4 separate regions of the Homo sapiens genome follow, and all the other regions are linked to region 4. The links are contacts of gene promoters, found by promoter capture Hi-C in blood cells and fetal thymus (Javierre and others, 2016). All regions are on one chromosome and are shown on one strand. The core of a region is centred on a gene start or on the middle of the fragment in contact, and the rest is flanking DNA. Distances in the headings are between cores, read along the strand shown. Region 1 holds the start of DMWD (DM1 locus, WD repeat containing). Region 2 holds the start of QPCTL (glutaminyl-peptide cyclotransferase like). Region 3 holds the start of CCDC9 (coiled-coil domain containing 9). Region 4 holds the start of DACT3-AS1 (DACT3 antisense RNA 1).

Evidence for each region. The method cuts DNA at HindIII sites, captures the fragments that hold promoters and counts their contacts. A CHiCAGO score of 5 or more calls a contact.
Region 1: the fragment with the promoter of DMWD here is called in contact with the fragment with the promoter of DACT3-AS1 in region 4 in 5 of 17 cell types (total CD4 T cells, erythroblasts, fetal thymus and 2 more); the score reaches 7.4 in total CD4 T cells.
Region 2: the fragment with the promoter of QPCTL here is called in contact with the fragment with the promoter of DACT3-AS1 in region 4 in 2 of 17 cell types (total B cells and fetal thymus); the score reaches 6.7 in total B cells.
Region 3: the fragment with the promoter of CCDC9 here is called in contact with the fragment with the promoter of DACT3-AS1 in region 4 in 3 of 17 cell types (fetal thymus, total B cells and total CD8 T cells); the score reaches 6.0 in fetal thymus.

What each region holds. Positions count from the first base shown.
Region 1 is chr19:45,791,374-45,796,494 of GRCh38, forward strand. It overlaps DMWD (DM1 locus, WD repeat containing), which reads right to left and starts at 1,472. Exons shown (of 5, transcript NM_004943.2): 1 at 943-1,472. The coding sequence starts at 1,383. It overlaps RSPH6A (radial spoke head 6 homolog A), which reads right to left. Exons shown (of 6, transcript NM_030785.4): 6 at 4,340-4,733. The coding sequence ends at 4,496. RefSeq lists a silencer at 1,121-1,600. The HindIII fragment of the contact is 5,053 bases long and covers 1-2,729 here.
Region 2 is chr19:45,691,416-45,696,606 of GRCh38, forward strand. QPCTL (glutaminyl-peptide cyclotransferase like) reads left to right here and starts at 1,251. Exons shown (of 7, transcript NM_017659.4): 1 at 1,251-1,495; 2 at 1,998-2,141; 3 at 4,022-4,303. The coding sequence starts at 1,289. It overlaps SNRPD2 (small nuclear ribonucleoprotein D2 polypeptide), which reads right to left and starts at 538. Exons shown (of 3, transcript NM_001384647.1): 1 at 472-538. The coding sequence starts at 473. RefSeq lists enhancers at 74-794, 613-742, 753-882, 1,408-1,958. The HindIII fragment of the contact is 1,670 bases long and covers 659-2,328 here.
Region 3 is chr19:47,253,989-47,259,059 of GRCh38, forward strand. CCDC9 (coiled-coil domain containing 9) reads left to right here and starts at 2,537. Exons shown (of 12, transcript NM_015603.3): 1 at 2,537-2,621; 2 at 4,342-4,415; 3 at 4,571-4,675. The coding sequence starts at 4,413. RefSeq lists an enhancer at 1,886-2,795 and silencers at 2,686-2,795, 3,006-3,245, 3,286-3,335. The HindIII fragment of the contact is 17,839 bases long and covers 2,180-5,071 here.
Region 4 is chr19:46,657,566-46,662,681 of GRCh38, forward strand. DACT3-AS1 (DACT3 antisense RNA 1) reads left to right here and starts at 2,799. Exons shown (of 3, transcript NR_040042.1): 1 at 2,799-2,843. It overlaps DACT3 (dishevelled binding antagonist of beta catenin 3), which reads right to left and starts at 3,617. Exons shown (of 4, transcript NM_145056.3): 1 at 3,251-3,617. The coding sequence starts at 3,499. RefSeq lists silencers at 3,415-3,664, 3,875-3,994. The HindIII fragment of the contact is 2,055 bases long and covers 1,655-3,709 here.

The DNA of each region.
Region 1 (5,121 bases), core at 222-2,721, 870 kb before region 4:
CTGGGTCCACACAGTTCCTAAGCTCCGATTCCTTTTAGCCTCACCACTCCATCCTATAACCTCAGCAACTCCCTTGGGACCTAGTACCACACTATTCCAAGACCCCCAAACCTTGAGGTCACCCAAATTTCCAGGACTCTAAAGCCTAACATCCTAGCATTCTCTTCACTTTGTAGTCCCTAAACCGCCACAGTTCTGGGACCCGTCAAACCTCACGGTCTCCCACATTTTAGGCCCATTTATTACCTAGGGGCTCCGAAGGATCCCCATCATTTCTGGGATCACCATAAACGGCCAGGGTTCTCACCACATCGCTTTAGAGATGTCCTGAATCACACCTGCAGATTCCCCTGCCAGGGCCTCTCATTCCCTTGAGAGCTCCCATCAGCTTCCGGACGCTCATCTCCTCCAGGACCCTCATGACTTCCAGACCCCAATTTTCTCTAGAATCCCATTCAGCTTCTGGATCCCCTATCACCTTCAAGGCCCCCATCACTTCTAGACTTCTCCTCATTCCTGGGCTCAATCTCAAGACCCCTCTCCCACACCTCCAGGCTGCAATACTGGGTTCTCCATCACCTCTGGGCTTGCATCACCTCATGATTCCCCATTACCTGCAGAATGCCTGCCACCCCAGAACCCGGGGGATCCCACCTCATCTCAGATACCCCATCATGTCCAATAGTCACCATCCCAGAACTCCTACGCATAACGGGGGTAAAGGGGATTTCCCCCATCACCTCCAAGATGCCTGCCCAGCACCCCGCGGGCCTCTCATCACATTTCAGAATCCTGTACTCCCTCCAATGCTGTCGCCCTACAACGTCCATCACATTTAGAATGCCTATCTCAGGGCCCCATATCAATTCGGGGACCCTCCTATCAGTTCTCTGGAACCTCCATCCTTTCAGCACCCAGGGCCCCACGATGCAGGCCGCTCACCCGTTGGCTCCCACGACGACAGCAGCCTGGGTAGAAATAGAGCTCACGGCCCAAGTTGAAGCAGACGCGGTCTCCCCCCGAGCCCAGCCCCGCGGGCGTGGCGGGCGGCTCCCCGGCCCCGGCGCTGTCCGGCTCCCCGAGGCGCACGAGGCTGAGGCGCACGGCGGGCAGGGCGGGCCCGGGTCCGGGGCCTGCGGGCGGCGGGGACGACGCGGGGCCTGCAGCGCCGGGACCGGAGGCGGAGGCAGGGCCGGGCGGGGGCTGCGGTGGCTGAGGCGGCACCGGAGTCTGGGCGGAAGCCGGACCCGACCTGCGAGCGGCGCCGTCGCCCGGGAGTAGCTTGTAGAAACCCTCGCGCGTGCGGAATTGCGACTTAATCTCCGCGCAGTCCCCCATGGCGGCGCCGGGGCCCGAGCCGCCCTCCGCGCCGCCCGCCGCCATCTTGGGCGCCCCCCGGGCCCCGCCACTGCCGGACTGCCGCCCGCAGCCGGGCCCCCTCCCGGAAGCCGCTGGCCCGCGCCGGAAAAGGTGGGGTCGTCGCCCGGGCAACGCCTCTTCGATTGGCACCCAGATCCGGAGGCGGGACGAATCCCCGCGGTCGCTCGGGTAACGGTGCTGGGACTGTGGGCGGGGCGAGAAGGTGGGCGCGGCCTTTGAGCCTGTGACCGACTTGTGGTTGGCTGCGGGGGCGGAGCCCGCAATGGAAAGAGGCGTGGCCAGTTAGAAAGCTCAAGTCCTTAGCAACCGCGCCCTGGGAACGTTTGCCTAGCAACGGAGGGATTTTTTTTTTTTTTTCCCCCACGACAAAGAAGCCCTCATCCATAGTCCAGCCTTCCCATGAAGTCACAGCCAACCCCAAGTGACCCTGGTCTCTCCTTAGACGCCCAATATACACTCCCCTGACCTCCAGTGTTTCCCACTGACATATTCAAATCCCTGAATGACCACAGCATCTGCTACCATTCTTCCCCACCCTTGGTGACCCACCAAATCCCTGTGTCCCCACACAACTCAGAGGACTTCCTCTGACCCACTATTGATTAATGCTAACTCCAAACATCCTTCATATTTTCCACCAACCTCCAATGTATATTTCCATGATTTTCTTATTTTCAACAACCTCACTTGTCCTCCAAAACCTACCTCTGATTCCCAAATTGTATTGATCCCCACGGTGCCCCAGTGTCCCAGTGATCCACTCGTAACCCAAAGTCTCCCCCTGATCCCAACAGCTCCTACTCATAGCCAGTGCTCCCCATGTCTGCTGAAGCCACCCAGCCCCATCATAGATCTTTCTAGTCTCATGTAGTCAATGGCCTCTACGATTTCTCCCTAGAGTGTCCCAAGGGCATCTCACACTTAAAAAAAAAAATCCTACAATGGTTCGGGCATGGTGGCTCATGCCTGGAATCCGAGAATCCCAGCACTTTGGGAGGCTGAGGTGGGAGGATCGTTTGAGCCCAGGAGATCAAGACTGCTATGAATTCACATCACTGCACTAAAGCCTGGGGGACAGAGTCAGACTCAGTCTCTCTAAAAAAAAAAAAAAAAGAAAGAAAAAAGAATCCTACAATGAAATTGACGTCTTACACCAAATCCTCCACCTCTCTTGCATCCCCACCTTAGGGCTAGCTCTGCCGTCCACTCAGTCAACCAGGCCACAGACCTGGGTGTCTTCCTAGATGTGTACCATTTATCTTCACTCTGCCCCCGCTTACAGCCTCCAAGTCTTTTGCATTCGACCACGTGGAATTCCTCTTTCTCAGTTCCTTGTTCTCCCTGATCCAAGCTTCTCCTCTACCCAAGCCCTTCCCCCACCCCCACATCAACCGTGTCTCTTGGTCTCCCAGATTTCTGTCTCACCCCCACTTCCACCTTTCACTTGGCATGTAGAGAGGTTTTATTTTGTTTTTGTTTTTGTTTTTTTTGAGACAGTCTCACCCTGTCACCCAGGCTGGAGTGCAATGGCTCCATCTCGGCTCAGAGACGGGGTTTCACCATGTTGGCCAGTCTGGTCTCGAACTCCTGACCTCAGGTGATCCACCCACCTCGGCCTCCCAAAGTGCTGGGAGTACAGGCATGAGCCACTGCACCCGGCTTTTTTTTTTTTTTTTTTTTTTTTTGAGACAGAGTCTCGCTCTTGTCACGTGGGCTGGAGTGCAATGGGACGATTTTGGCTCACTGCAACCTCTGCCTCCTGGGTTCAAGTGATTCTCCTGCCTTAGCCTCCTGAGTGGCTGGGATTACAGGCACCTGCCACCACACCCAGCTACTTTTTTGTAGTTTTAGTAGAGACGGGGTTTCACCATGTTGGGCATGCTGGTCTCAAACTCCTGACCTCAGGTGATCCGCCAACCTTGGCCTCCCTAAGTGCTGGGATTACATGTGTGACCCACTGCACTAGGCCTAGAGAGGTCTTTCTAAAGCATGAATATGATCAGGGCCCTCCCCTGCTCAAAACCCATCTGTAGCTCCCTAGTGCTCTCAGGGGAAAGTTAAGCCCCAAGTGATCTGGCCCCTGCCAACCTCTTTTCAATCTCATATCTCACCACTAACTCCTCACACTATCCACCACCTAAAATGAGGCTTGAAAAACTACCCCAACATATCACACTCTCTCTTGTCCTTGGGTCTTTGCACATTCTGTTCCCTATTCTTGGAATGCCTTTCCCCATTCTTTTCTTGACCCTTTAAGAGTTGGCTCGGGAGCTCTGTCAGTCCTCTGGGCTTCCCCATTTGGGCTGTCACTGTCTGGAAATGAGTCTCTCTCCCTATAGTGTTGTGAGGTCCAGGAAGGCAGGACTGCAGCTGTCTGTGTCCCCAGCACAGGGGTGGGCTGACAGGAGGTATTTCAATAATGGTTTGATGGCTAGGTAAATGAATAAATAAAACAGGTGGGGCTGGTCGCGGTGGCTCACAGCTGTATCCTAACACTTTGGGAGGCCAAGACAGGCAGATCGCTTGATGCCAGGAGTTCAAGACCAGCTTGGGCAACATAAACCCCATCTCATAGTGAGACTCTGAAAAATTGAAAAAATTTAGCTGGGCATGGTGGGCTGTGCCTGCAGTCCTAGTTACTCAGGACCCTGTCTCTACAAAAAATACAAAAATTAGTGTATGTGGTGATGTGCACCTGCGGTCTCAGCTACTCCGGAGGCTGAGATGGGAGGACTGCTTGAGCCCAGGAGGTCAAGGCTGCAGGGAGCTGAGATTGTGCCACTGTACTCTAACCTGGGTGACAGAATGAGACCCTGTCTCAAACAACAACAACAAAAACCAAACAGGTGGGAGAGACTCTGCCAGGCAATGTCTGTGCTCTCTGCAGGGCCCAACAGCCCTGGCTTGGAGTCCATGTCAACAGAGGTGGTGAACAAATGAATGAATGGCTCATCCATAATGCCGTGGAGGAATTTTATTTGAAGCAGTTGCCTTCCTTTTCTATCCCTGCCCTCTGGGGACAGGAAGCACATAGTGAAAATATAATCCATGCTAACTACCTCTAAGGGGAAATTTGCTATCTACCTGCTTGGGGAAAGTGGCTAGAGGGTGGGCCTCAGTCATCTGTCTCCTCGCCCTCCTCCTCCTCCTCGCCCTCCTCCTCCTCCTCTGTGGCTCCCAGGGCTTGTTCCTGGGCTGCTTTCAGAGCCTGCTCCTCTTCCACTGTGGGGTCACTCATCTCCATGATCTCTGGGCCACTGGGGTACTCTTGTTGAATGGGGGCTGGCAGGGCCGGGTTGAAGCTCTCGGGGCTGTACTTGTGACCCCAGCCGATGTAGATGTTCTCAAACTTTCTGGAGAAGCAGTGAGACACTGTGAAATTCTCCCTCAAAGGCCCCAGACTTGACTTTTTTTTTTTTTTTTTTGAGATGGAGTCTTACTCTGTTGCCTAGTGCAGTGGTGTGATCTCGACTTACTGCAACCTCTGCCTCCCAGGTTCAAGCGATTCTCCTGCCTCAGCCTCCCATGTAGCTGGGACTACAGGCACGCGTCACTACGCCCAGCTAATTTTTGTATTTTTGGTAGAGATGGGGTTTCACCATGTTGGCCAGTGTGGTCTGGAACTCCTGACCTCATGATCTGCCCGCCTCGGCCTCCCAAAGTGCTGGGATTACAGACGTGAGCCACCGCACCTGGCCAGCCTTGACTTTCTTTAAGGGTAGGACCCAGCATGTGCATAGC
Region 2 (5,191 bases), core at 1-2,500, 970 kb before region 4:
GCCACCGCGCTCGGCCTCCCCCAGTATTCGTAAAATCGCTGCCCCTTAACATTCATTTCAATAGGACTAATTATCTAGGACCACTCCCGTTATCGTTTAAAACATGTTTTTCATAATTAAATTTTTTTTTTTTTTTGTAGAGACGGGGGTCTCGCTATGTTGCCTAGGCTAGTCTCGAACTCCTGTGTTCCAGCGATGCTCCGCCTTGGCCTACTAAAGTGCTGGGATCACAGGAATGAGCCCCCGCGCCCAGCCCAGGGCGTTATCTGATAAAGCTGTCCCCTCTCCCGAAGTCACGATGCGTCAAAGGCCCCACGCCCGTTCTCAAACTCATCAGGAGAAAAGCAGGACGCTGCATCCCTAAAACATCTGCCCCTGCCCCCCCCGCTCTGCTCAACCCTTCCCACACTCAATCGGTCAAATATCCACCCTCAACCTCATTCCCGCCGCCTAAGCCTAGCCCGGCCTCACATGATGGTCACTACGCTCTCCGTTCACTCCCGTTTCCTCCGCGTTGCTGCTGCCTGAGGAGAGAGAGGCGGGACTTCCTCTTCCTGCGACCCACTTCCGTTGGCGCCTGCGCAAAGCCAACCAGTAAGTGGAGGCGTGGCCTGTTGCCACAGCATTCCCCACCAACGGTGCACAATGATGGAATAAAAGCTTCGGGTAGGGGTTCGCGGCCAGTCAGAACCACACGGGGGCAGATGTTTATGACAATGAAGACAAAAGGAAAGGCAGTCTGATTCAAACCGTTTCTTGAAGAATGGTACAGGTTGAAGGAGGGAAATGACAAGCTATTTCCAAATGCCCGCCGGCCGTGACTTCGGGGGCGCGGCCTCCGTGAAGCCAATCCGCTCCTCGCTTCGGAGACAGGCACCGCCCCTCTTCCCTCTGGGACGCGTTACTGACGTATCTACTGATCTTTCCGACCCTGCGCCACCAATCCCCTGCCTACATCCGGAAGGGGCATGGACCTGCGCCCGGGAGATCGAATATTTTCCATGATCAAACGCTGTTCATTGGCTTTCCCTCCTCCGCTAAGGCGGAGCCTACTTCTCTTGCGCTCCCATTTGGGTCGTGCCATTCTCAGGGGAACCAACCCCAATACCTAAGGGAGGCTGGGAGGCGTGTCCTCAGGACCGTAGTTCTTATTGGTTTCGCTGCTCGCTGTGGGGTGGGCTGGTGCAGCCGCAGCTGTTGCTTATTGGCCCACCGATTCCATGGGGAGGAACTTGGCTGGGCCTAAACTCAATCCGTGGTCTGGTACAGGTTTCAGGGCAAAGCGGCCATGCGTTCCGGGGGCCGCGGGCGACCCCGCCTGCGGCTGGGGGAACGTGGCCTCATGGAGCCACTCTTGCCGCCGAAGCGCCGCCTGCTACCGCGGGTTCGGCTCTTGCCTCTGTTGCTGGCGCTGGCCGTGGGCTCGGCGTTCTACACCATTTGGAGCGGCTGGCACCGCAGGACTGAGGAGCTGCCGCTGGGCCGGGAGCTGCGGGTGAGGCTGGGCGGGGACCCGGGCACCGCGGGGACCCTCATTCCCTCCCCGCTGTTACCCAGGGTTGACGTGGCTTTAGCGTACGGCCCTAACCGCAGATGCCACCGTCTTCGTCATCTGAGCGCATGACCCTTACCAAAGGAATAAGGCTTCGGGCTGGTTCTGCAACAGTAGCTTCCTTTTAAGAGGAAAGGTCTGAAATAGTAAGACGGGGGGGTTCAGGGTTCTACGCCTTTAGTCAACTATTTGGAAGAGTCCCTTCCTCCATCTCCCCTCTCTCTCACTGGGCCTCGATTTCCCCATCAAGTTTGAGGTAGGCTGGACCGGATGGTCTTGGAAGGACTTTTCCTGAGCCTTGGATTTATCCTAGAAGTCTCCGATGCTGGAGGCGGCAGATTAGGAAGAGAACCCGGGGCTCCTCGCGGGTGACGGCGCCCGGGGTAGGGTTGAAATGGGGGGGTTGCTCTCATTCTTCCCTTCCCTATCCCACCTCCTTCCCAAGGTCCCATTGATCGGAAGCCTCCCCGAAGCCCGGCTGCGGAGGGTGGTGGGACAACTGGATCCACAGCGTCTCTGGAGCACTTATCTGCGCCCCCTGCTGGTTGTGCGAACCCCGGGCAGCCCGGGAAATCTCCAAGTCAGAAAGGTAAAGGGACCCACCTCCAGTCCCTGACCCCCTAGCCCTCCAGGGAATGGGAAATAAGAATCCTGTTCAAGATCCCAAAGAAGCTAAGAGGAGGAACTGGGGCTCTGACTGGAGTTAATCGGACTCTAGACTCCATGCTGGTAACAAACCACCAGGCTGTACTGCCCCCCTTAATGCCCCCACCAAAAGCTTACTGTGTGCTAGGCATAGGCAACAGACAGCCCTATAAGGTGGGTACCAATATGATCTTCATTATGCAGATGGGGAAACTGAGGCTCAGAGAGGTTATACACATTGCACAAATCCTACAGATAATAAGTAGTAGACCTTAGCCGGGTGCAGTGGCTCATGCCTGTAATCCCAGCACTTTGGGAAGCCAAGGTGGAAGAATCACCTGAGAAGTTTGAGACTAGCCTAGTCAACCTAGTGAGACCCAATGTTTAGAAAATCATAGACCTAGAGTTGAACCCAAACAGGTTGGCTCCGAGCTGGTGCTGTAATGTATCTGTTGTCTTCCAGAAAGCATGAAGAGTCATTTAAAGGCCAGGCGCAGTGGTTCACACCTCTAATCCCAGCACTTTGGGAGGCCGAGACAGGCAGATCCCTCGAGATCAGGAGTTTGAGACCAGCCTGGCCAACATGGTGAAACCTCATCTCTACTAAAAATACAAAATTAGCCAGGCGTGGTGGTGGGTACCCGTAGTCCCAGCTACTTGGGAGGCTGAGGCACGAGAATCACTTGAACCCAGGAGGCGGAGACTGCAGTGAGCTGAGATTGCGCCACTGCACCCCAGCATGGGTGACAGAGCGAGACTCCATCTCAAAAAAAAAAAGTCACTTAAATACTGCCTGAGTCCCAATGCTACCTCATCCACTTAGATTGTGACCTTGGACTGGTTTCTTTTTTATTTTATTTTATTTTATTTTATTTTGAGATGGAGTCTCACACTGTCGCCTGGGTTGGAGTGCAGTGGCGCGATCTCGGCTCACTGCAACCTCCACCTCCCAGGTTCAAGCAAATCTCATGCTTCAGCCTCCTGAGTAGCTGGGATTACAGGTGTGCACCACCATGCCTGGCTAATTTTTTGTATTTTTAGTGAGACGGGGTTTCACCATATTGGCCAGGCTGGTCTCAAACTCCTGACCTTATGATCCGCCCACCTCAGCCTCCCAAAGTGCTGGGATTACAGGCGTGAGCCACCGCGCCCGGCCTGGACTAGTTTCTTAACCTCTCTGAGCCCATTTCCTCATCTGTAAAATGGGGTCATGTATTGGCAGTCCCTCCCCTAAATGGTTCCTAGAAGAGGGCTTAGCACACAGTGAGAGCTATTTAAGGGTAAGCTGTGATGAGTCTTGCTGGCTTCAAGAGGTGGGGTCTCCCCAACATCTGGCACCCAGTAGGTACTCACCAGCACTGTCAAGGGAATGATTTTAATCAGAGTAGGGGGCTGGGCACAGTGGCTCACATCTGTAATCCCAACACTTTGGGATGCTGAAGCAGGCAGATCACTTGAGGTCAGGAGTTCGAATACCAGGCTGGCCAACATTGTGAAACCCCATCTCTACTAAAAATACAAAAAATAGCCAGGCGTTGTAGGGGGCGCCTGTAACCCCAGCTACTCAGGAGGCTGAGTCAGGAGAATCACTTGAAGCCAGGAGGCAGAGGTTGCAGTGAGCCAAGATCAAGCCACTGCACTCCAGCCTGGGTGACAGAGCAAGACTCCATCTCAAAAAAAAAAAGAAAGAAAGAAAGAAATCCATTCAATCAGAGTGGGGCTTTAGTGTCAACCCATCTGCTCTGCATGGCTCAGGTCACGTGGCCCTTCTCCCCACCTCCTCCCCAGTCCCCGTCCACCCTCCCACCTCTCTCTTGCCGCTAGTTCCTGGAGGCCACGCTGCGGTCCCTGACAGCAGGTTGGCACGTGGAGCTGGATCCCTTCACAGCCTCAACACCCCTGGGGCCAGTGGACTTTGGCAATGTGGTGGCCACACTGGACCCAAGGGCTGCCCGTCACCTCACCCTTGCCTGCCATTATGACTCGAAGCTCTTCCCACCCGGATCGACCCCCTTTGTAGGGGCCACGGATTCGGCTGTGCCCTGTGCCCTGCTGCTGGAGCTGGCCCAAGCACTTGACCTGGAGCTGAGCAGGGCCAAAAAACAGGTGAGGAGCAGGAGTCGGGGAGGGTAGTGGGCTACCTCCACCTTTTCCCAAGCCCCCACCCTCCCTTGCCTGGACATTTGTCATCCCTCTCGTCTTCCCACTCTACTCCACGCACAGAGCCACAGGGATCTTTTTTTTTTTTTTGAGACGGAGTTTCGCTCTTGTTCCCCAGGATGGAGTGCACATGGCGAGATCTTGGCTCCCCGCAACCTCTGCCTACTGGGTTCAAGCAATTCTCCTCCCAACCTCAGGTGATCTGCCCACCTCGGCCTCTCAAAGTGCTGGGATTACAGGCGTGAGCCACCGCGCCTGGTCATCACAGGGATCTTTTTACCTTCTAGATGTCAGATTCTCTTTCCTCTCCCCCAAACCCTCCCAGGGCTCCCGCCTCATTCCAGCCATAATCCAGAGTCCTTATATTGGCCCACGAGCTGTGCCCTGTTACCTCTCCAGCCTCATCTCCCACCCCTCACCTCTTGCTCACTCTGCTGTAGCCACCCCCACCTCCTCTGGGTTCCTCAAACCCGCAGAGCTTGCTCCCACCTCAGGGCATCTGCACTTGCTGTTTGCTTTGGATAGAATGTGCTTTTCTGGCCAGGCTCCGTGGCTCACACTTGGAATCCCAGCACTTTGGGAGGTTGAGGTGGGTGGATCACAAGGTCAGGAGTTCAAGACCAGCCTGGCCAACATGATGAAACCCCATCTCTACCAAAAACACAAAAATTAGCCAGGCTTGGTGGTGCACACCTGTAACCCCAGCTACTCGGGAGGCTGAAGCAGAGAATTGCTTGAACCCGGGAGGCGGAGGTTGCAGTGAGCCAAAGTTGCACCACTGCACTCCAGCCTGGGCAACAGAGCGAGACTCCATCTCAAAAAAAAAAAAAAATT
Region 3 (5,071 bases), core at 1,287-3,786, 600 kb after region 4:
CCCCAGTAGCAGGGGTTACAGGCGTGAGCCACAGCGCCTGGTCGGCTTGTCACACTAGCTTTATTATGTCTAAGTTTTGGTTAATGCTGTAACCTCCTGGACTCTGCAGCTATTCAGCTGCTGTTGCTTTGAGTATCTTCTAGTTTTGGGAATGCACCAAGCTCATTCACCACAGGGCCTTTGCATAGGTTGTGTCCTTGGCCTGCACAGGCAGCCTCTCACCCTCCGGCCTCTCCTGCCCCTCTTGCCAGGCATCTCCCACAGGTGCTGCTATTTCCCATTTACTTGTGTCTTCCCTTAGGAGGACAAGGATGGGGTCAGCTTTGTTCATCATCTCAGTTCCCCCACCAACTTTTCCTCCCAGCACGCAGCCTGGCAGTCAATGCTGATTTGGGAGAATGAACGACTGATTCTATCGGTTGAACGTTTATTTTATATATATATATATATATATATATATATATATATATATATATATATACTTTTTTTTTTTTTTTTTTTTTGAGACGGAGTCTCGCTCTGTCGCCCAGGCTGGAGTGCAGTGGCGTGATCTCGGCTCACTGCAAGCTCCGCCTCCCGGGTTCACGCCATTCTCCTGCCTCAGCCTCCCAAGTAGCTGGGACTACAGGCGCCCGCCACTACGCCCGGCTAATTTTTTGTATTTTTAGTAGAGACGGGGTTTCACCGTTTTAGCCGGGATGGTCTCGATCTCCTGACCTCGTGATCCGCCCGCCTCGGCCTCCCAAAGTGCTGGGATTACAGGCGTGAGCCACCGCGCCCGGCCTTATTTTATATTTTATGATTTCATTTACTTATTTATTTTCGATACGGAGTCTCACTTTGTCGCCCAGGCTGGAGTGCAGTGGCACGATCTTGCCTCACTGCAACCTCTGCCTCCCGGGTTCAAGCAATTCTCTATCTCAGCCTCCCAAGTAGCTGGGATTACAGGCATCTGCCACCATGCTTGGCTAAATTTTGTATTTTTAGTAAAGACGGGGTTTCACCATGTTAGCCAGGCTGGTCTCGAACTCCTGACCTTGTGATCCACCTGCCTCGGCCTCCCAAAGTGCTGGGATTACAGGCATGAGCCACTGCGCCTGGCCAGTTATTTATTTTTTTGAGACGTAGTCTTGCTCTGTCGCCCAGGCTGGAGTGCAATGGCACGATCTCAGCTCACTGCAACCTCTGCCTCCCGGGTTTAAGCGATTCTCCTGCTTCAGCCTGTAGCTGGGATTACAGGTGTTACAGGTGCCCGCCACCATGCCTGGCTAATTTTTGTATTTTTTAGTAGAGACAGGGTTTCACCACGTTGGTCAGGCTGGTCTCAAACTCCTGACCTCGGGTGATCCACCCGCCTCGGACTCCCAAAGTGCTGGGATTACAGGCGTGAGCCACGGCGCCCGGCCTATTTTATTTTGAGACGGAGTCTCTCGTTCTGTCGCCCAGGCTGCAGTGCAGTGGTGCAATCTCGGCTTACTGCAACCTCTGCCTCCCGGGTTCAAGCGATGCTCCTGCCTCAGCCTCCCAAGTAGCTGGGATTACAGGCGCCCGCCACCATGCCTGGCTAATTTTTGTATATGTATATTTTTTGAGACGGAGTCTCCCTGTGTCGCCCAGGCTAGAGTGCAGTGGAGCGATCTCGGCTCACTGCAAGCTCCGCCCCCGGGGTTCACGCCATTCTCCTGGCTCAGTCTCCGGAGTAGCTCGGACTACAGGCGCCCGCCACCACGCCGGGCTGATTTTTTTTGTATTTTTAGTAGAGACGGGGTTTCACCATGTTGGCAAGGATGGTCTCGAATTCCTGGCCTCAAGTGATCCGCCCTCCTCGGCCTCCCAAAGTGCTGGGATTACAAGCGTGAGCCACTGCGCCCAGCATTTTATTTTATTTTCGAGAAGGGGTCTGCTCTGTCGTCTAGGCTGCAGTGCGGTGGCATGATCTCGGCTCACTGCAACCTCTGCCTCCCCGGTTCAAGCGATTCTCCTGCTTCAGCCTCCCGAGTTGCTGGGATTACAGGCGCGCGCCACCACAACCGGCTAATTTTTTTTGTAGAGACGGGATTTCACAATGTTGGCCAGACTGATCTCGAACTTCTGACCTCAGGTGATCCGCCCGCCTCGGCCTCCCAAGGTGCTGGGATTACAAGTGTGAGCCACCGCCCACGGCCGGTAGAACATCTGAAGCTTCTAAAGCGAACTCTAAGGTTTCATTGGCACGAGGGGGCTCGAACCACGCCAGGCTTCCAGGCGTCAGTGCCCAGTGCTTGGCATCTACTGATAGAAACCAGGAATGAGGGGCTGGAGGCGGAAACAGCTTGAAGAAAGAGGTAGAGGCCAGGGAGTGAGGACGGTGTCTCCTTTTCCTGGAAGTTGGTAATTCAGGCAGAAGGAAGTTGGATGAGCTTGCGGAACACCCGGGGGGCCAGTCGGCCCCGCTCCCGCATCCATCGCGGAGGCGCGGCCCCTTTAAGGCTCCCGGAAACGGTCCCACAGGACCGGAAGTGACCCTCTTTATTTCCCTTCCTCACGTGGTGCAGGCAGGAAGTGACGCGCCTGGCCCGGGAGCTGCGGTCGCAGAGGCCGACGGAGCCGGAGTCGCGGACGCCGCGGGGTCTCCGGGACAGGTGACCTGGGGGAGGGGGCCGGGAGCGCGCCCAGAGAAGGCGGGGCCTGAAGCCCCACGTGGCGGGGAGTGCGAACAGGCCCGGGCGGGGTCGGAGTTCTCTGCGGGGGGCGGGGACAGGACGCCCACATGGGAAGCTGGAGGGGCGCTGGCGGGGCGGGCCGTTGGGTGGGTGGGCAGGGTCGGGGCGGGGCGTGGCCAGAGCCTGGGCCGGCGGCTGTGGGCGGGACCTAAAAGTTGTGGCTGGACTGTGGGCGGGGCCATAGTGTTGCTTGTTCAGCTGTGTGGCGGGGCTCGGACGCCGGGCGGAAGCTCTGTGGGCGGGGCCAGAAAGTTTTGCCTTACTGGAAGTGGGTCCAGATTCTTGGCCGGGACGTTGGGGGCGGACCCAGAGGCTGACGCAATGGCGGGGGCGGGGCCACAATGTAGTGGGGGAGCCAGGGGGCGGGGCCAGGGTGCTGGCGGGGAATGCTGGGGGTGGAGCCAGAAAGTTTCGTCTGAGCCACGGGCGCGGCCAGAGCGTTGGCCGGGAGGCGGGGAAGCGGGGAGTTGAGCCAGAACCCTGGGGAAGCCATGGGCGGGGCCAGATGCTGACGCAACGAGGTGTGGGAGGGAGTCAGGGGGCGTGTCCAGGAGGTTGGCCAGGCCAATCGGAGGCGGGGCCAGAGGGTTGACTGGGCAGGCCGGGGGCGGGGCTGGAATAATAATAAGAGATGGTAGGGGCGGGTGTAGGCTGTTGCCTGCGAGCCAGGAGGCGGGGAAAGAGCGTGGCTGGGAAAGTCGGGAGCGGGGCCACATTAATGGCCCATGGGTGGGGGCGGGGCCAGAAGTCTGGCGGGAAAGGCGGGGCCAGAAAGTTTTTTCCCGAGCCGTGGGCGGGGCCAGAGCGGTTTCCAGGATGTCGGGGACGTGGCCCTGGCATTCCCAGCCGGATTGAGGCTGGAGCTTTGCACAGAAAATCTGGGGCGGGCCTGGGTAGTTTTGTCCTTGTTGGGGCGGGTGGAGTATTCAGTGGGGCAAAACGCCAGTTCCAGGAAGCCTCGCCAGTGAGTTCTGGGCCTGTGTACAGAATCCTTTCGGGGGAGGCGGGAGGCTGTCGACCTTCCGTAGGGCGCTGGAGACGGGACTAGGACGTCCCTGAGGAAGGCGCGGGCTTGGAATGTTCTCTGAGAGCTTGGGCAGCCAATAAGAGTGGGGTTCGGACTTTCTTTGAGCGTGGGATTGGGAATGTTTCTGAACCTTACCTGGTGGAGCTAGAATATTCGCCTGGATATGAGAGGCACCAGGATGAGCACAGGGAGGTGGGTCTGGAACTTTCTTTTGCAGGCTGGTTGGAGGGGTTGTAGTTGGAACTCTCTTGAGATAGGGAACCCGGGCTAACACTCATACCACAGGGTGTGGCGGCTGGCCTAGAATCAGCCTTTGGAGGAGAGCAGTGTTGGATACTTAAGCAGTGGGTGGGGGCCAGAACATCCCCAAGGTGGGTTTGACTAGATCGTTTACATGGGAACTGGGTGAGTCCACAAAGATCATGAAAGGGCTGAGTCTGAATTTCTATGGAGAAGATGGAGGTGGCAGTTGAAAGGAGGGAGAGTGAGGGCTACAATTCTCTTGGGGTACAGGGTTTTTTGTGTATGGCTGTGAGGATCCCGCAGTATGTTAGAGGGTGAAGTAGGTTGGGGGGCCATTGGCCTTTGTCCTTTTTTTCCCTCTGTCCCCAGGAACCCTCAGTGCTGCGTCTAGATTCTGCAGGGGAGGTTTGCTGGGACCTTGGCTCCACGCAGCCAGCGAAATGGTGAGGCTGAAAAATGGGGTCTCTAGAATCTGAGTTTTGGGGAAGGGGGCTTGGGAGGATGGGATCCATAGGGGCAGACTCTCAGACCCTGGGGGAAAGTCCCTGGTATGGATGGAGGTTTTTCCTTCCATCCCTCAACTGCCTCCCGGTCTCAGGCAGCCACACTCGATTTGAAATCAAAGGAGGAGAAGGATGCTGAGTTGGACAAGAGGATCGAGGCTCTTCGGCGGAAGAATGAGGCCCTCATCCGGCGCTACCAGGTGCCCTAGCCCCGCCCTGGGAGACCCCATCCCCTCTCTTCCCCGCAGTGAGTTTTTCTCACCTCTCCCTTCCTTAAAACCTTTTCATGGCTCCCCATCACTGTCAGGATAAAGGCCAAAGGCCTTAGCCTGACATCCCTTCTTTCATTCCATTATTCATTCATTCATTCATTTGTTCACAAATATTCCCCAAGATCTTTACCAGCCCCAGTGCTGAGTGGTGCTGGGGATATAGCTGTGACTGAGACAGACCCAGGCCTGCCCCCTCCAGGGTCCACCGTCTAGTCAGGGAGACAGCCCTGTCCTCAGGGATGCCCCAGAGCAGACAAGTCTGGAATCAGGAAATTCAGGGGTCTGTGGGAGTCCAGAGGAGGCTCTTGACCCAGCCTTGGGGAT
Region 4 (5,116 bases), core at 1,549-4,048:
GATGGTCTCAATCTCCTGACCTTGTGATCTGCCTGCCTCGGCCTCCCAAAGTGCTGGAATTACAGGCGTGAGCCACCGCGCCCGGCCAATGAGTTTCTTTTGACACATAATAAATGCCAGTTTGTATGATTACAGGAAAGCTATGAATTTCTTATAAGGAAAATAGAAAATGTTTCCATTGTTTAATTAAAAATAAATGTAGGTGTCGGGCGCAGTGGCTCACGCCTGTAATCCCAACAACTTTGGGAGACCGAGGCGGGAGGATCACTTGAGGCCAGGAATTCAAGACCAGCCTGGCCAACATGGTGAAAGCCCATCTCTACTAAAAATACAAAAATTAGCCAGGGGTGATGGTGCATGCCTGTAATTCCAGCTACTCGGGAGGCTGAGGCAGGAGAATTGCTTGAATCCAGGAGGTGGAGGTTGCAGTGAGCCGAGAATCACTTGAACCTAGGAGGTGGAGGTTGCAGTGAGCAGAGATTGTGCCATTGCACTCTGGCCTGGGTGACAGAGCAAGATTCTGTCTCAATGAATAAATAAATAAAGGCCAGGTACAGTAGCTCACACCTGCAATCCTAGTGCTTTGAGAGGCTGAGACAGAAGGATTGCTTGAGCCCAGGAGTTGGAGACCAGCCTGAACAACATAGCAAGACCTCATATCTTTAAAAAAAAAAAAAAAATTAGCCAAATGTGGCGGTGTGCACCTGTAGTCCTAGCTTCTTGGGAGGCTGAGGCAGGAGGATTGCTTGAGGCCAAGTTAGAGGCTGCAGTGAGCTATGATCGTGCCACTGCACTTCAGCCTGAGAGACTTTGTCTCCAAAAATAAATGAATAAATAAATATATCATTTAAAAATACATAAATAAACGTGAAAGGATAGACTTTTTGGTAAGTTCTGCCAAGTCTAATTCCGGTTCTTCCATTACAAGGAAGAGCAGAAATTAGGGAGACAGACAGGAGATGCCTCCTCCTCTCCAGCACCTAGACGCCCCCCAAAAATATTCCAAGTCTACACCCCTCTATTTGCAAGTCTGGCCTCATTCCTTCCAGTTGCAAAAGGATGAATCTTTAAAAGATTAGAAAGTCCTTGGCCTGAGTCTGGCTCTCTGCCTCCTCACGGTGCCCCTCATCCTTCCTCTGCAGGCTTAATAAGAGTGTGGTTAGGACCCCTGGAGACCCCTTTGCCCAAACTTCCCTTACCTTGTTTCTCCCCTCACGTGCCCCTCGTTGGTATCCAGTGCCCATTTATCTCTATTAGGAAGTCATTCTGCAAGTCTAACTTAAGTTATTCTTGATGAAAGGAACCTTTTTCCTTCTTGAGAGCAAGCAGGACCCAGGGAGCCCCTGCCCTCACCCAGGATTCCTGCCTCTCTTCTCTGCCACACCCCTGATCTTTACCTGGTATCCCCATCATTCCTATTAGAAAGTAATCAAGTCTGGCTTCAGTCTTTCTTGCCTTGAAGGAAGTGTATTCCTGGCAGGGGCTGGGGGTGGGGGGATAAGTCATAAGACAAGGGTTGGGGGATCAGAAGAAGCCCTAATCCACTCTTCAGAGGGACCCAGGAACCCCCAGCACTAGAGAAGTTTATATTTAGCGCTTCTCTGCTCCTCCTCCTCCCCCCGCCTGCCACCGCCTCCTCCCTGATGCTGGGACAAGCTTTGCCTAGAGACTGGGGGGTGGGGGGACAGGCCTCTCCACTATCAGCTCGTGCCGGGAGGACAGAGGGCTGAGGGGGAGGAGGGGACAGAGGGACCGAGGAGAGGGAGACTGAAGGGCAGAGATGGGGAAGGTGAAGGGTGAAAAGGGGAGAGACCGAGGGCAGAGGGGGAGAGGACACAGCTACCCACAGCTACCCCAACCTCATGCCTCGCATTCTCCTTGTCAGGATGGAAGGCGCCTTCCAAGCCGAGCCAGCTTGGGGTGGGGGGAGCTAGCGAAGGCCCCCACAATCCGTCTCTAACTTTGGGAGGGGGTGGGGCCTCCCACAGCTGTTTCTGTTTCCAGAAAAGAATGTGCAGGGGGGTCCCACTCCTGAGAGGGGGAGGGGCCGGGCGTGCAGCCCCGGGAGCCTGGCTTCAGTCTTCCTCCCCACTCCCCATCTGGGGAGGGGGCGGTCGAGGTCAGCGGCGGGGAGAGCCCCCTCCACTGCCACCTCGGCTCAGGTTTCCCGAAACGGGAAGCTCTGGCCACACACAGGCTTGGGGATGGGGATCTGCCGTGGAGCCAGGGTGTGCGGGCTGGGGGGAGGGGAAGACAGACTGAGCCTGGGACGTCGGGCAAGAAGAAGAGAGCGAGGTGCAGACAGGCAGGAAGGGAAGGCCAAGGAGACAGATGCAGAGGGACACAGAGATCACAGAGACAGAGAGACAGGATGAAGAAAGAGAAGCAGACACAGAAAGTCACAGGGATGTGGCAGGACGGAGAGAGTGACAGAACCCAGGACGAGATCGGGAGACTCAAGGAATGACATAGAAAGGGGAGAGGCATGGGGCGTCCTCAAGTCATTCCGGAGACCTCTGCCCATCTTCCACCATGAGAACACCCAGAGTCCAGAAGTCTCCCCCAGGCGCTGCCTCGACCTGCCTCCCCTTGGGTCAAGGAGAGCTGGGGCCAGGTAGGAAGCAGGGGAAGTGTCACCAAAGGGTCAAGATCCCAGTGGGGGGTCCTCAGGGACTGTGAGCTTCCTCTCAGCAGTGGTCCCTCCCTCTGGAGGCCCTGAGATTCCCCTCCTCCCACCCCGCCCCCTCCAGAGATCTCCAAGCACACCAGGACTTAGGGAAGATGGAGCCCTGGTGGCGGGGCCCAGAGAAGGGCATGTTTGGAGCCTGGCTGTGTCACCTTGGGTGAGTCGCTTGCTCTCTCTGAGCCTCAATTTGTTTCTCTGTTAAATGGGGACTATCACCCCGTTTCCCAAGCCGCAAGAAGACAACGCCTGCAAAGTACCCGGTCTCGGGTTTGACACATACTTGGCGCCCACAAGGATTTTCTTTGGGGAAGGGGTGTAAGAGACAGGGCCTGTGTTTCTCACGAGGCCCCAGTGGGGGCGATGCAGTTCCCCCTCCCCCGATTTGGGGGCGGGGAGGCCAGGTCCGGCCCGCCGCCGGAACTCCGGGGTCGCCAGCCCCACCCCCTGTCCTTTCTCACTCCCTGCCTACCCGGGTCCCCAACCCCCGCCCGGTGTCTGAGCATCCAACCGAGACAGACAGACACAGACGGGGGTGGAGGGACGGACGGACAGGCAGCCCCTTACCAGCTGCTCCTCCAGGGCCGCTGCGGCCCGGCGCGCCGCCGCCGCATCTTCATCCTCATCGGCGTCCTCCTCGTCCTCGGCCTCGGCGCCCCCCATTCCGGGCTGGGCCAGCCGCAGCGCCTGCTGCACGCGGTACTCCTGCCTCTCCCGGAGCCAATGTAACTCGCAGAGCCCGGCCAGGCTACCCTCCAGCCAGCCCCGCAGCCGGCCCCGCTCAGGGCTCACCGGGAACGAGAAGGCCCGGATCATGGCTGCGGCCCCCCGCCCCAGCCCGGCCGGGCCCCGCGGCCACCCCTCTCCCGGTCCCACCTCCCCGCCCCAGCAGCCTGCCCGCCCGCCCGCTGGCCGGGCTGTCACCGTCTCATCTGCATAGGCGCCCGCCCATTGGGCCGCCCACCCGCGCCTTATCTGCATGGCCACGCCCCCGGCGACCGAGCAACAGCCGCCTATTGGCGAATAAGCTTCCTGACGAAGACTCTCGGGCGTGCAACCGCACCGCCCAACACGACGCATGCTCGCAACTGCCTACTCACTCCGCTCGCCACGCCCCCTCCGTGCAACTGCCTCGGGGCCCTGGCCACGCCCCCCCACGCGTCACAATGAAACAAGCCCGCCCTTGCTTCAATGCCATTGGTCTGTGCCTGGCCGGTCCTGCAGCAGGTTCCACCCTCTTGCGGGCGAGCGCTGGCTACCATTGGACTGTCCGGCGCGAGGGGAAGGGTGATCTATAAATAGGGAATGGGTACACGTGACAGTTTGGCAGCTGCTCCTACCCCTCCACCCCGCCCAACCTTCAGCTTCTGAGGCTGCGCAGGGGGAGAAAAGGGTTAGGGGGTCGAGCCCTGACTTCGCCTCCTCTTCCAAGAAGCCTTCCCAGACACTCAGCTGTAAAACCAGACGGACGTCCTCCGATGAAATTGTTTCTACTTAGGGCCGGCTTCACCGGCTTGGAATCCACTTAGAAGGGTCTTCGCGCTTGGTTGAATGTTCTGCAATTTCTGTCTTGAAATTTTTAGTTTTTGAGCAAGGGGCCCCTTATTTTCACTTTGCACTAGGCCAAATATGTAGCCGGTCTTGCTGCTAAGAGTCTAAGATCGATTGCATTCCAAATTCTGGAATTATAAGACCCTGGGTGGAAGATTCTATGCTTTGACCAGAAGAGAGTCTAAGCAGCTTTTGTCTCCCAGGTGCTAGGAGGATGTGTGCTCATCATTCTTCCATTCCAGGGGCCTTTGTTCTACGTTCTAAGGGGCTTTGTTCTCAGCCTTCTATGATGCTCTATTCTCAACGTTCTCTGGTCCTAGGAGTCTGAGCCTGACATTCGTTTCCAAGGCTTCCTGCTGTCTCTCCAGGCTCCGCAAGCAGGGCTGGGGCACCCTCAGGCGGCCAATCTGTATCACTACGCCGAGCCTGCCTCTACCAACTTCCAAGACCTAGCTCTAATATTCATACTCATCTCTCAGACAGACCTTGGCTCCCTAAAAGCCAAGGCCCAGAAGATCATACAAGAAATTCCCTCTTTTATGATTCCCCGTGCACGAAGTGACCTTCTGGTGGTGAGATGGAGAGAAATTGATAGTGGCGATAGACAGCAAAGTCTCCAGGAGCCAGACTTCCTCGGGGTGAGTCACAGATCTGTCACTTTCCAGCTGTGTGACCTTGGAAAACTTACTTAACCTCTCTGTGCCACCGTTTCTTCATCTGATCACGGGATCATAATACTGGCTGCCTCATACAGTTGTTCTGAGGATTCAATGAAATGTATTAGGTACTTGGAGCAGTGTCTTCCATGGATTAAGAGCCACAGAAGGGTTTGACAAATAAGTTTAAAAACTAATCTAGTAAGTTTCCGGGGGGAAATGTCTT